Linked DNA regions of Homo sapiens: all the other regions are linked to region 1. Evidence: promoter capture Hi-C in 16 types of primary human blood cells and fetal thymus (Javierre and others, 2016). All regions are on one chromosome and are shown on one strand. Each heading gives the region's core, a stretch centred on a gene start or on the middle of the fragment in contact. The rest is flanking DNA. Distances are from core to core; before and after follow the strand shown. Region 1 holds the start of C19orf25 (chromosome 19 open reading frame 25). Region 2 overlaps REXO1 (RNA exonuclease 1 homolog). Region 3 overlaps ONECUT3 (one cut homeobox 3).

Region 1 (4,402 bases), core at 1,405-3,904:
CGATGCTGGTCCACACCAGCCACCAGCCATGTGTGGCTCCTGGGCACTTGAAATATGTCTAAAGGGAAAACACAACTCAATTTTTCTCTTTTTTTCTTTTTCAGAGACAGGGTCTCACTCTGTCACTCAGGCTGGAGACTCCAACTCCTGGGCGCAAGCAACCCTCCTGCCTCAGCCTCCTGAGTAGCTAAGACCACAGGTGCATGCCACCACACCCAGCTAGTTTGTGTATTTTTGGTAGATATAGGTTTTGCTATGCTGCCAAGGCTGGTCTTGAACTCCTGGCCTCAAGTCATCCTCCTGCCTCAGCCTCCCAAAGTCCTGGGATTACAGGCATGAGCCACTGCACCTGGCCCCAGAATTTTCTAATATTACTTTTTAAAAATGTTCCCTTAGAAATTCACAGTTTCTATCATTCCACATGGCTCATTTTCTTTTTTCTTTTTTTTTTTTGTTTGAGATAGAGTCTTGCTCTGTCACCCAGGCTGGAGTACAGTGGCACGATCTCAGCTCACTGCAACCTCCGCCTCCTGGGTTCAAGCAATTCTCCTGCCTCAGCCTCCCAAGTAGCAGGGATTACAGGCATGCGCCACCATGCCCAGCTAATGTTTTTGTATTCTCAGTAGAGACGGGGTTTCACCATGTTGGCCAGGGTGGCCTTGAACTCCTGACCTCAAATGATCCGCCCACCTCAGCCACCCAAAGTGCTGGGATTACAGGTGTGAGCCACCGCACCTGGCCGATTCATCTTCATTTGTTTCCCGCCAGCCCCAGAACAGCCTGGGGCAGACATTCTTGTTTCTTTTGTTCACTTGTCCATTAGCAGTGCTCTAAGCGCAGAGCCCAGCACACAGGAAGTGCTCAAGAAAAGGATTGTTGAATGAATGAATGAGCCTCATCCAGAACACAAAATTCACCCAACTGCACTGCTGAATCCTTTGGTCTCTGACTAGCTTCCACCTCGTAAATCAGGAGTGGACAAGCTTTCCTGCCAAAGGCTGGAGTCTCTGCTCCCACTACTCAACTCTGCCCTTCTGGTGTGAGAGCAGCCACTAACCGTATGTGAATCATTTGGCTGTGTGCCGTAAACCTTTACTTACCAACACTGAAATCTGAATTTCATACCTCTTTCAGGTGTCAGAAATGTTCTTTTTCACCCACCCCCATTTAAAAATGTGAAGTCCATTCATAGCTCCCAGACCTTAAAAAAACAGCCAGGGGCAGGGTTTGGGGGGCCCTAGCTTACCACCTCTGTTTTACTTTATTTATTTCTATTTATTAATTATTATTATAATTATTGAAACAGAGTCTCACTGTGGTCCAGGCTGGAGTGCAGTTGCGTGATCTCAGCTCACTGCAACCTCCGACTCCCAGGTTCAAGTGATTCTCCTGCCTCAGTCTCCTGAGTGGCTGGGATTACAGGCCCATGCCACCACACCCGGCTAATTTTTGTATTTTTAGTAGAGACAAGGTTCCACCATGTTGGCCAGGCTGGTGTCCAACCTCTGACCTCAAGTGATCCACCCACCTCGGCCTCCCAAAGTGCTGGGATTATAGGCGTGAGCCACCGCACCGGCCACTTATTTATTTTTGAGACACAGTCTGGCTGTGTTGCCTAGGCTGTATCCTCCCACTTTAGCCTCCAAGAAGCTGGGGCTACAAGTGTCCACCACCACACCCAGTAATTTTTTTTTTTTTTTGAGACAGTCTCGCACTGTCACCTGGGCTGGAGTGCAGTGGTGCGATCTCGGCTCACTGCAAACTCTGCATCCCGGGTTCAAGCGATTCTCCTGCCTCAGCCTCCCGAGTAGCTGAGATTACAGGCGCCTGCCACTATGCCCAGCTAACTCTGTTTTGTTTTTGTTTTTGTTTTTGTTTTGTTTTTTCATTTTTAGCAGAGACGGGGTTTCACCATGTTGGCCAGGCTGGTCTCGAACTCCTGGGCTCAAGCGATCCTCCCGCCTCATCCTCCGAAAGTGCTGGGCTTACAGGCCTGAACCACAGCGCCCGGCCTCCACCCCTGTCAGAAGAACCCTCTGAAAATCGGTCCCACTCTACGGAGGAGTAGAGGGAGACTCGGAGAGGATACGGACCGTGCCCATGTTGCGGGGGTTCCCAGGGCGTGGGGTCAGGAGTTAGGGGTGTGCTTCTCTCCCGTCCCCTTGCTGCCGGGGTCTCAGGTCCGCTTTTCCCCGGGACCGGGCTCCCCCTACCTTCCGGGGCCAGGATGGTGAACACTGGATCCTCTGCCGGCGCACCCCGCACATCCTCCAGGATCTGCTCCACCGTGGGGGGCGCTGGGCGGGTGGGCAGCAGCACGCGCTTCTTTGCCTTGGAGCCCATCTCTGAAGGCGGGGAAGGGGGCGCTGACCGGGGCGTCCACCTCTCCGCCCTTGCCCGGGCTGCTCCTCCCGCCCAGCGAACTCGTACGCACCCGTCGCGGTCCCGCTCCCGGGGAAGCCCGCCCTGTCCCGCCCCTCTGAGCTCGCCCCAGGCCCTGACCCTCCCTCCGCCCAAAAACACGGTGGCCAAGGCTTCAGGGTCTGGCTCAACCTCTGCCTCAGTTTCCCCGCGGTCACCCCAGTCGCCGGCCTCTTCCCACCTGGGCGCGGGACCCGAAAGCCCAGCGTCGACGACGCAGCCACTTCCGATTCCGGTCGGAGCACCGCCCCGTCCCCGAACACGTGACACACACTTCCGGCCTCCTCTCCCGCCGGCCCGCCGCTCATCGCGGGGCTCCGCCCCGTCTTAAAGGGATAGTGCCCTTGAGACTCGGATCTCAGCCTCTCAGGCGAACCCGAACCTGGACGCGCTACGATGAGAGCGAGTTCGAGTCCAGGCTCCACTGGCTGGGTAGAAAAGCATCCGAGGCTCGTCTTTCTGAAAAGGGGAACACGGCACTAGGGGACACGCCACCCATGTGGCTGACGGGAGCACAAAATTGCTGTCCACCTAAGGGAGCCTGGTGGTGCATGAGCACTCGGCGGCCGGAACACAGCGGGGGCGGGGCGGTCGCGGCGCCTCCACTTCCGGCCAAGGCGGGTCCTCCCACCTCGGGGACGGTGCTGGAGGTCACCTTTTCCTCTCCGCTGATGCCTGGGAAGGCAGAAAGAGCAGAGGGCCCTTTTCCTCTCTCAGGGGCTTTATTGAGATGCAGTTTACATACCATAAAGTTCTCCTGTTTATTTCGTTTTGTTTTGTTTTTTTAGAGACAGAGTCTCACTGTGTCGCCCAGGCCGGAGTGCAGTGGCGTGATCTCAGCTCACTGCAACCTCCGCCTCCCGAGTTCAAGCAATTCTCCTGCCTCAGCCTCCCGAGTAGCTGGGACTACAGGCGCCCGCCACCACGTCCGTCAAAATTTTTTTTTGTATTTTAGTAGAGATGGGGCTTCACTGTGTTGCCCAGGCTGGTGTCAAACTCCTGAGCTCAGGCAATCCGCCCGCCTCAGCCTCCCAAAGTGCTGGGATTACGGGCGTGAGCCACCGCGCCCGGCCAAATTCGCCTGTTTAAACTGTAAATTCAGCCTGGGCGCGGTGGCTCATGCCTGTAATCCCAGCACTTTGGGAGGCCGAGGCGGGCAGATCACTTGAGGCCAGTTTGAGACCAGCCTGGCCAACATGGTGAGACCCCGTCTCTACTAAAAATACAAAAATTAGGCTGGGTGTGTTGGCTCACGCCTGTAATCCCAGCGCTTTGGGAGGCCGAGGTGGGTGGATCACGAGGTCAGGAGATCAAGACCATCCTGGCTAACATGGTGAAACCCTGTCTCTACTAAAAATACAAAAAGAAAAACAAAATTAACCAGGCATGGTGGCGGTTGCCTGTAGTCCCAGCTACTCAGGAGGCTGGGGCAGGAGAATGGCATGAACCCGAGAGGCAGAGCTTGCAGTGAGCCGAGATCGTGCCACTGCACTCCAGCCTGGGCGACAGAGCAAGACTCTGTCTCAAAAAAAAAAATATTGTTGAGAGAGAAGGAAGGAAGGAAGGGACAGAGAGAGGGAAAAGGAAAGAAAGAGAAAGAAAGGAAAGAAGGAAGGAGAAGAAAAAGGAAGGAAGGAGAGAGAGAAAGAAAAAAAAGAAAAAGGAAATAAAGAGAAGAAAGTAAAGAAGAAAAGGGAGAAAAGAAAGGAAAGGAAGGAAAGAGAAGGAAGAACGGAAGAAAGGAAGGCGAGAGAGAAAGAAAAAGAAAAGAAAGAGGAAGAAAGAAAAAGGAAAGAGAAAGAAGGAAAGAAAGAAAGAAAAGGAAAGGAAGGAAGGGGCCAGGTGCGGTGGCTCAAGCCTGTAATCCCAGCACTTTGGGAGGCCGAGGTGGGCGAATCACGAGGTCAGGAGATCGAGACCATCCTGGCCAACATGGTGAAACCCATCTCTACTAAAAAAGGAAGGAAAGAGAAGGAAGAAA
Region 2 (4,402 bases), core at 971-3,470, 370 kb after region 1:
CCGCCCGGAGGGTCCCAGCTCCCCAGGGCCCAGAGCCACAGCTGGGCAAAGCTTCAACCCCCCGCCCGGAGGGTCCCAGCTCCCCAGGGCCCAGAGCCGCAGCTGGACTCGCAGGCTCGCCGGCGAGGGCTGAAAAAGAAACGGCCTCAGCACCACCGCTGGTTGTCACCACTGGGGTCAGGGAAGCCCAGGGACGCTGCTCAACATCCTACAACGCAAAGGACAGCCCACCAGACGACAATCTGGCCCCCAGTGTCCCTAGCACCAACCGTCCCTCCAGCAAGCTCCATAGCTGCCACTCCAGGCCAGGCAGGCAGGCGGCCCCGGTGGCCCGATTGCCCACCTGCCACCCGCTGGTAAAATCACCCCCGGGTCCTCATACGCCCTGGTCAGGCCTGGGGAACCAAAAGACAATACTGCTGGCTGCGGGGGTTCTCCCCTAGAGTCCATTCCTTCCTGGACGCGGCTCACTGAGGATGAAAAGTCGGACCGAGGAGAGCACACACTGTCACGTCTCTGAAGGTGACACAGGTGGTCAGACGGTGCCTTCACTGCCCCACGGAAAGCCGGCTGTCTCCCATCCACCAGGAGGAGGCAGCACAGGACGCAGCCAGCGGGAGCTCCTGACCCTCCTGAGAGGCCAGAGGAAATGAAGGCAAGCCATCCTCTGCAGCGAGGCGCCATTCTTGGCCTCCTTCTCCCTTCTCGCCTGACTCGGGGCCTCAGAGTTTCCGAGGAGAGCTGGCAAGCCCTAACAGATCAGTAGGATCCCAGGGCTCACCTGCCTAGCAGGGGTATGGGAGGCTGTCACCGACACCGGAGAGCCAGGCCTGCTTCAGGCCCATCCTTGGAAGGTTTCAAGTTCCCTTCTGTGCCCAGCCCACAGAGGCTGGCAGCAAAAACGGCAGAGGAGGCAGGCAGGGCCCCGGCCCACCCACATCCAACCCAGCACTGCCAGTTACCAGCCACGCGTACACAGGTGAGCAGCCTCCCGGCGCTGGGCCTCAGTTTCCTCATCTGTAAACTGGGAAGAGCCACTCCCACTGCTGTTTGGGGGTCACAGGCAGAGTCCGCCCAGTACTGCTGTGGTAGTGGCCAAGTCAAGAGGTAGGGACCCCAGAGCCCATGTGAGGGGCCACATCTGAAGAGCCAGAAGGAGGAGGACCCCTGCCTGACCCGACTCTGCTAGAAGGCTCAGGAGATACTGGGTACATGGTGGCTGGGCTTCAGGAGATATTGGGTACACGGTGGGTGGGCTTCAGTAGATACTGGGTACACAGTGGGTGGGCTTCAGGGCTCCCCATGTACCTGGGGCTGCTCCCTGAGCGCCTCTACCCCAGGACTCCTGCCCTCTACAGATGCAGTTCTGGAGAGTCGCCTGGAGCCCCAGCTGGGACGCCGCCAACAGCCCCACCCAGAACCACTGGCACCGGGCTGCCAGATCCTGAACCCGACTGCGGGATCCCCGAGGGCAGGAGCTGTGCGCCCCGCACACACGTCTGCCGCTCACTTTGCAGTATAGGATGGCCCCTTCCCCAGGCCTGGGACTGTCCTGCTGGGGCCTGAGTCAGCCTGTGGCGCAGCACTAGCATCCCCTCAACGTGGTGCCCTCAGCCTCTGCCTCCCTCAGGAGAAGCATCATCTGGGAGCACGTTCCTGCCGGAGCTGTGAAGCCCTGAGCTGGGGCCCACCGCACCTCTGGAGAGCCCTGGACTTTCCTGCAATCCTCCCCGGAAGGGTTCCCTCTCCTGGAAGACAGTGTCCTGCCTCTCAGTAGGACACAGACTCCCTGAGACACCACAGGGAGTGCGGGGCAGTGGGCAGAGGCCTGGGTTCTGAGGTCAGATGGGAGGAAGGTGGGATCTAGCCCTGCCCACTCCACATAGACAACCGAGGCCCCTCACCTACCACCAGGCTGCAGCCAAGGCCCAGGCAGCAGAGAGCGGCCACTGGGGGGATAGTAACGCTCATTCCCAACTCACAAGGCTGGGATAGAACGTGCCCCTCTAGGCCGGGGATGCACATCCCTGCGTCCCAGGGCTACACGGTGCCCGCCGTAAGGGCTGCTGGACCATCCCTCCAAGCCACCCTGGGCAGGTCCAGCCGGCTCTGAAATGGCTGTGCAGCCCAGCGCGGTGCTTCACGCCTGTCATCCCAGCACTTCAGGAGGCTGAGGAGAGAGGATCGCTTGAGTCCAGGAGCTCAAGACCAGCATGGGCAACAAAGTGAGACCCCGTCTCGGCAAAAATTTTAAACATTAGCGAGGTGTGATGTCACATGCCTGTGGTCTCAGCTAGTCAGGAGGCTGAGCCAGGTGGATCCCTTGAGTCCAGGAGGTCGAGGCTGCAGTAAGCTGTGATCGCACCACTGCACTCCAGCCTGGGTGATAAAGTGAGACCCTGTCTCAAAAATTAATTCATTAAATAAAATGGCTGAGCAGGTCCAGGGATAAGAGCCCAGAAGGAAACCTGAGTCCTTCAGCAGTGCTGCTCAAGGTCGCCAATGACCCGCTGAGCCTGTGACCCAGGGCCCAGGAGCACCAGCCACCTTCCTGTTCCCGTCGCAGCTCCGCCAAGCCTCCCAACCCTGCCTGCCTTGGTGCCCTCATCAGATGCCCTCTCCTTCTCCCAGAGGCCCTGGAGGCTCCAGCCCTGCCCTGGCCAGGTGGTAGTATGGGCAAAACACGTTCCTCGATAAGCCTCCGTTTCCCCACCGGCAGCAAATAGCTCACAGGGTCACCATGCAGCGCGTGTCCAGCACAGAGCATGGCCCCACAGGTGCTCCAGGGCTAGCTGAGGGCTTTTCACCTGAACCTCTGTCCACTCTCAATCCTGGGAGGCCAGCGTTCCTGTCTATCTCCTCTCTGGAGGCCGCTGCCCTGTGCACCCTAAAATCCCCTTGAGAAGACATGGCAAAGGCTAGATCACGCCAGCCTCTTCAAATCTCATAGGAAACTGGGTGTGTGTAAATCTGGAGGTGTGGACATGGGACATGCATCCCCCCCTGTCCTCAGAGGGCAGCCTGATGAACATGTCACGGAGGCGGAAACAGAGGGTCAGAGAAACCTCACCGCAAGGAAGATGGATCCTGCCTTCTGCGGGGGGAGGCAGTCTTCTACCAGACAGTAACAAGAAGCCCTACCACCCCACCAGAGATGGGAAAAGGAGTTCATTCTCACCAGCAAAAGGGAAATGCAGACACGCCATGGTAAGAGGCAGGCAGCTGCCTTTTTCCCATAGGAACGGGGGGCAGACAGGAAGACGACATCACCAAAGGGACCCTCAAAAATAAGCCTTTGGGAAACAAATGAGCCATTTGGGATGCAGACAGATATCATAAGCCTGACTTGCGCCGGGTGCAGTAGCTCACACCTGTAACCCCAGCACTTTGGGAGGCCGAAGCAGGAGGTCGGCTCGAGGCCAGGAGTTTTGAGACAAGCCTGGACAACATAGCGAGACCCTATCTCCACGAAAACATACAAAGTTAGCCAGGCTTGGTGGCACCCGCCGCCCATAGTCCCAGCTACTCAGGAGGTTCAGGCAGGAGGATCCCTTGAGCCCAGGAGGTCGAGGCCTCAAAGAGCTGTGATCGCACCACTGCACTCCAGCCTGGACTATAGAGTGAGACCCTGTCTCTAAAAATAGGGTTAAAATGAGCATCGTGAGTCTGGTGTCACAGCCTCCGAGAAGCCTCTCCCACGCGTTGCCTTCTTCACCAACTCCCAGCCCCCGCCAAAGCCGGCTGCGTGCTCCCAGGACATCACGACCTATGCTACGGGATCTGTAGGCACAGCTGTCGGCAGGTCCCTGAGAGCACAGCCGGCATCGTACGCAGCTCTGAATCCCCCGCCTCAAACACAGCGAAGACGCTGGGCTGTGGGGAGCTGACAAGTGATTGCTTGCATCTGTCCACCTGCAAACAACCGCCCACAGGTGCAGGTGTCCCAAGCACACTTATCAGGGAAATCAGAAAAAAATGCTACCTTTTCTGGCAAAACAGGAAAATAAACCTATTCTTAAATCCTAGAGAAGATGTTTCTCTTTTGCAGGAAAAGGTTCTGAGCTGAGACTGTTTCATGGTTAAAGTAAAAACAGTGCTTGAAACTCACGCCCAATGAGGAAATCTGGGACGAAGGAAGTCAGGGGCTGGGTGAAGCAGAGAGCCACTATCAAGGGACAGAGGTAACAGGGGAGTCTGAATGACATCACACTCGATAACCCTCCCTCCACGACTTTCCTTGCGATGTCCCTCTTTTTCTCCAATCCAAATCCCACATCTCCTCCAAGAAACGCTGCCATGACGATGAAAACCACCATGACGCTGTGAGGTGGAGTCCACCAACGTCCTCTGCCCGACCAAAAGCATGGAATTCCTCGGAGCCCACTCGAGTAAGCTTTGACTT
Region 3 (4,402 bases), core at 964-3,463, 300 kb after region 1:
AAAAAGGAAGAAAAATGCAAAAAAAAAAGACAAAATGGAATTTGAGTTGGTGCATGACTAATGTACTCTTTCTTGACGCTAATTGTAATAAAGTGGTCAGGGTGGGGGGCGGGGGGCGTGGCCCGGTTCCGTGTCGCATCTGTGTGTCTGGTGCCTGATCGGTGCTGTTCAGTGGTTTTTCGTTACTGTTTCTTTCCTCCTTTCTAAGGAACTGTGTCCAGCCGGGACAGGTGGACGGGGCCCCAGGTAGAGGGGGCGGGAACAGAGCCTCAGTAGCCGGGTCTCCTCCACCTGCCTGTCCATCTCCACCCGAGATGCCACCTGCCTGCCCCAGCCAGGCGGGAGCCACCGAGCGTCCCCCCCTCAGTTCCTGGTTCTTGGGGGCACTCTGGTGTCATCGATATCTTAGACCCCCCCAACCCCCCATCACCCGGTTGCTTTCACTCTAGCATGAATTCCCAAGTGTCTTGTTCAGAGGAGACAGACAATCAGCCTATTCTTGTCTTGTTGCCCAGGGTGGTGGGGGACGGGAGTGTGCCCCAACTTCCTGAGATCTGAAGGACCCTCCTGAGGGCCCCAACAGCAGGCACCAGCACCCCCTCCCCCCCCACCTCCACCCAGACAGCCTCGGCCTCCCTCCCTGGGCTGGGCATGAGTCCGCCTTTCTGTCCAGCCCGGGAGGCAGGGGGTGTACGCCTGCAGAGACCCCTCCCTCCCAGCCCACTTTCGGAGCCTACAGAACAGAGGACTCCCCAAAATCATCAAAGGGGGCTCTGGGACAATGTCCTCTGCCTCTGACTCCTCTTGTGCCATGAGGCCACGTCCCTGAGCCATCCCCAGATAGTCCCTGGAGGTGGAAAGGGGCACAGATGTGCCAGCTTGGGAACAGAGGCTGGAGGAGAGGGCGGCAGGGGAGAGATGAGAGGGGCCGCTTTTGGGACAGGCCCCAGTAGGGGGGGGCGGGGTAGCTAAACGGGGTGCTTCTCACCCCATAAAGCAGCAAGCCCTGGTCTGGAGGGCTGGGCCTGGGGCTGAGGGCTCAGCTGACCTCAAATCTGAAATGATGCCGGGGCCAGGATGCTCCTTGCACCAGCAGGAGCTTGGGCCATTTCACATTCTCTGCCCCAAGCGGTTTAAGCAAAATCAGGCCAGTAGACTCCTGGGGCTCCTCCTCGTGGCCCTGTCAGACCACGCAGGGGCTGGTTTTGGTGGAATGAGCTCAGCCGGGGGTGACGGAAGAGCCAGGAGGCCCTGCGGCCTTGAGTGTTTTGAATAGACTGGAACTGAGGGCTGCTTTCAGGGGAGACACCACTTGGACCCTCCAAAGTCCCCTCCCCTCCAGGGACAGGGGAGAGAAGCCCTTTTCCACCTTCACCCTTGGGCGACAGGCTTAAAAGCTAAAAAAAAAAAAAAATCTCGTCATTGTTAACCATTGCTGTGCTGGGTTTGTTGATTTGTTTTTCTTCAATAAATTATTTTCTAGTCACTCACCTGGGCGTGTGTGTTAGCTGACGGGTCGGGCACAGATAGGGGGCGGGAATGGAACTCGCCCACCTCGAGGCTGGGGAGGGAGGACCGGAGTGCAGGGAAGACGGACTTTGCTTCCACCCAGCTCGCCCCTCTCTGCTCTGAGTCCCGTCTTCTTCCTGGGCCAGTGGCCAGCTCTGAGCCTCCACAATCCACACAACTCCACCACCCACACAAGTCCACCACCCACAGGGAATGGTAAGAATCAGAAAGAGGCCAGGCGCGGTGGCTCACACCTGTAATCCCAGCACTTTGGGAGGCCAAGGCAGGCGGATCACGAGGTCAGGAGATCAAGACCATCCTGGCTAACACGGTGAAACCCCGTCTCTACTAAAAAATACAAAAAATTAGCCAGGCATGGTGGTGGGCGCCTGTATTCCCAGCTACTCAGGAGGCTGAGGCAGGAGAATGCTGTGAACCCGGAAGGTGGAGCTTGCAGTGAGCCGAGATCGCGCCACTGCACTCCAGCCTGGGCGACAGAGTGAGACTCCGTCTCAAAAAAAAAAAAAAAAAAAGAATCAGAAAGAAAAGCTTGGCGCCTTAGAAGGAAAAGCTTGGCGCCTTTGAGTCAACCAAGCCCCAAGATGCACACCTTGTCAGGACCTGCTTCTGTGACATCACTGCTCATTGCTTTCTGGAGTCTAAAGTGAACGGAGGCCCCAGTGAATGAAGGTGTATTTGAATGGGAGAAACCAGGGCTTCCCGATAGAGGAAGAAGCTAGATGGTACAAGAACTGGAATTTATAAACTTTCTTGGGAGGGGCCAGCTGTCAGGCAGCGGGGGAGCCACAGCTTTTAATAAGCAACTTTTGAGAGCAATGAAGCTTTACCCACATTATCTTACCCCAGCATGAAGAAGGAAAGTTTTCCCTGCAAATACCCGGCTGGACCACTAGAGGTCAGTGTTTTGATTTTAAAAACCGGGAAGGAATATTCCATCACAAAAAAAGTGTAGGGAAAGAGGGAGCCTGAATTAGCGCTGGGGTCAGATGGACCCTGGTTTATTAGAAAAAGAAAAGCATGTGGAGTCCTTGTCTTTAGAGGAAGGCCCCCTGCATGCTGGTTGACTTGCAGCAGAACTGGCTGGAGCTTCTTCTTCCCAGGAAGGACATCTTCCTGATATGCCAGCGTGACTCCTTTGGGCTCGAAGATGCCTCTTCATCAGATGGGTCTAGGGATTCAGATGCTACGTCACTGCTGAACCCTGGTCCCCTCCGCAGAGGGCAATGACTGCTCCTCTGGGGGCAAGGATAGCTGCTCCTCCCCGGGCACCAGCAGCCACTCCATGGATGATGATGACTGCTTCTCCGCGGGCCACAGCTCCACCTCCATAGGCTGCTCGCTCGTGGACGTGGACGATTCTTCCAGACTTGGTGGCAGAGTCTCCACCTGAGATTTGTGGGTCTTGTCTGGAAGTGGCACCGTCCCCTCCTTGGGGGTGTGAGGCTCCTTTTGCCAGCTCTTCCGGAACGGTGTGGAGGGCTTCAAAAATGCTGACTTCTCCTCCGAGGAGTCTGGCTGGCTCTCCAACGTCAGCTGGCCTGAAAGAAATGACTGGCTCCCCAGAGGCTGTGGCTGGCTCTCAAATGACGACAGCTGGCTTTCTCTGTGCAACAGTGATTTCTCCTGAAAAGAATGTGACCTCTCCTTGGTCAACAGCAACTTCTCAGGAGAAGGTGGCCTCTGCTTGGGTGACAATGACCTCTCCTGTGCCCTTGGCAATTGCTCTTGGAAAGACTCAGATAGCCTGTTGCTGCTGGTGAGCACATATTTGGGGAGGGCAGGTTGGTTTTCTGGATGAAGAGCGGATTGTCTATCCATAGAAAATGATGAGCTAGGTGTAGGGGGGAGCTGTACTTCCTGGGAGGACACCTGCCCCTGTGGCTGGTGCTTCTTCTTCCCCAGGAAGGACATCTTCCTGAGGTGTCACTGTGACTCTTTTGGGCTCGAAGCTGCCTCTTCATCAGATGGGTCTAGGGATTCAGATGCTATGTCACTGCTGACCCCTGGTCCCCTCCGCAGAATTGTGCCCTGAGTGATGAGGTTTGCATATCCCTCACGGTGGGAGAAAGCATAGCTGGAACGGCGGGCACGAGACTCCCGGTGTACATGAGGCAAGGGCTCCATGGTGAAAATCTCCTCGCTGGGGCCCTCCTCCACCTTCTCCTCCTGAAGAGCAAAGGGGAGAGCAGGGGAAGCAGACTCCTATGCTTGGCTGATGGCTCTCAGGTCCCCCAAGTAGGAGAGGCAGGATTCAAAGCCCTTGGCCACTATTGATTGGCTACGTTCTTCCCTACCCAAGTTGAGCCAATTAGAGTCCTCGACTCTCAGTGTTGAGTTCTAAGGAGGACTCTAGTCCTTTGCTTTTCAAGACCCACTAATTGGCCTTGCCCTGGAAACTAACCCTGGATCAGCCAATCAGAGTTATTCCCTGGGACTTAACTCGGGACCACCCAATCAGAGTCCTTCCCTGGGACTTAACCCTGGCTCAGCCAATCAGAGTCCTTCCCCGACTCTGGACCAGCCACCAGGTGCCTTGGCTGCCCTTTGGTGGCAAATCCAGGAGAGGTGAGCCTGGGACAGCCAGGTGCCCAGCCTGTGCAGTAAAGGTGGCAGGAGCTGGGCAGGGAGAACAGAGGTGGCAGGGCAGGTACACCATTCCAGTCAATTCTGGGGCCCATCTCAGCTGCAACTTGCTTTTCCATGCATGCTTTGGTTACGTGGGCTAGTAAGTCCCCTCCCTTTTTTTTGAGGTGGGGTCTTGCTCTGTTGCCCAGATAGGAGTGCAGTGGCAAAAATCATAGCTCACTGCAGCCTCAACCTCCCAGGCTCAAGCAAGCCACCTGCTTCAGCCTCTCAAAGTGCTGGGATTACA

What was found. The method cuts DNA at HindIII sites, captures the fragments that hold promoters and counts their contacts. A CHiCAGO score of 5 or more calls a contact.
Region 2: a fragment that was not itself captured here is called in contact with the fragment with the promoter of C19orf25 in region 1 in 1 of 17 cell types (naive CD4 T cells); the score reaches 6.4 in naive CD4 T cells.
Region 3: a contact is called between a fragment that was not itself captured here and the fragment with the promoter of C19orf25 in region 1, in 4 of 17 cell types (M1 macrophages, M2 macrophages, total B cells and 1 more). The highest score is 7.9, in M1 macrophages.

What each region holds. Positions count from the first base shown.
Region 1 is chr19:1,476,561-1,480,962 of GRCh38, forward strand. C19orf25 (chromosome 19 open reading frame 25) reads right to left here and starts at 2,655. Exons shown (of 3, transcript NM_152482.3): 1 at 2,603-2,655; 2 at 2,214-2,345. The coding sequence starts at 2,343. RefSeq lists enhancers at 1,840-2,340, 2,702-2,821 and a silencer at 2,432-2,481. The HindIII fragment of the contact is 20,570 bases long and covers 982-4,402 here.
Region 2 is chr19:1,843,258-1,847,659 of GRCh38, forward strand. All of the region lies in intron 1 of REXO1 (RNA exonuclease 1 homolog), which reads right to left. Among named protein-coding and RNA genes, the nearest start is that of REXO1, 3.0 kb to the right of the region's middle. The HindIII fragment of the contact is 4,342 bases long and covers 50-4,391 here.
Region 3 is chr19:1,779,575-1,783,976 of GRCh38, forward strand. It overlaps ONECUT3 (one cut homeobox 3), which reads left to right. Exons shown (of 2, transcript NM_001080488.2): 2 at 1-1,414. It overlaps ATP8B3 (ATPase phospholipid transporting 8B3), which reads right to left. Exons shown (of 29, transcript NM_138813.4): 29 at 2,501-3,696. The coding sequence ends at 3,454. Among named protein-coding and RNA genes, the nearest start is that of ONECUT3, 28 kb to the left of the region's middle. The HindIII fragment of the contact is 271 bases long and covers 2,079-2,349 here.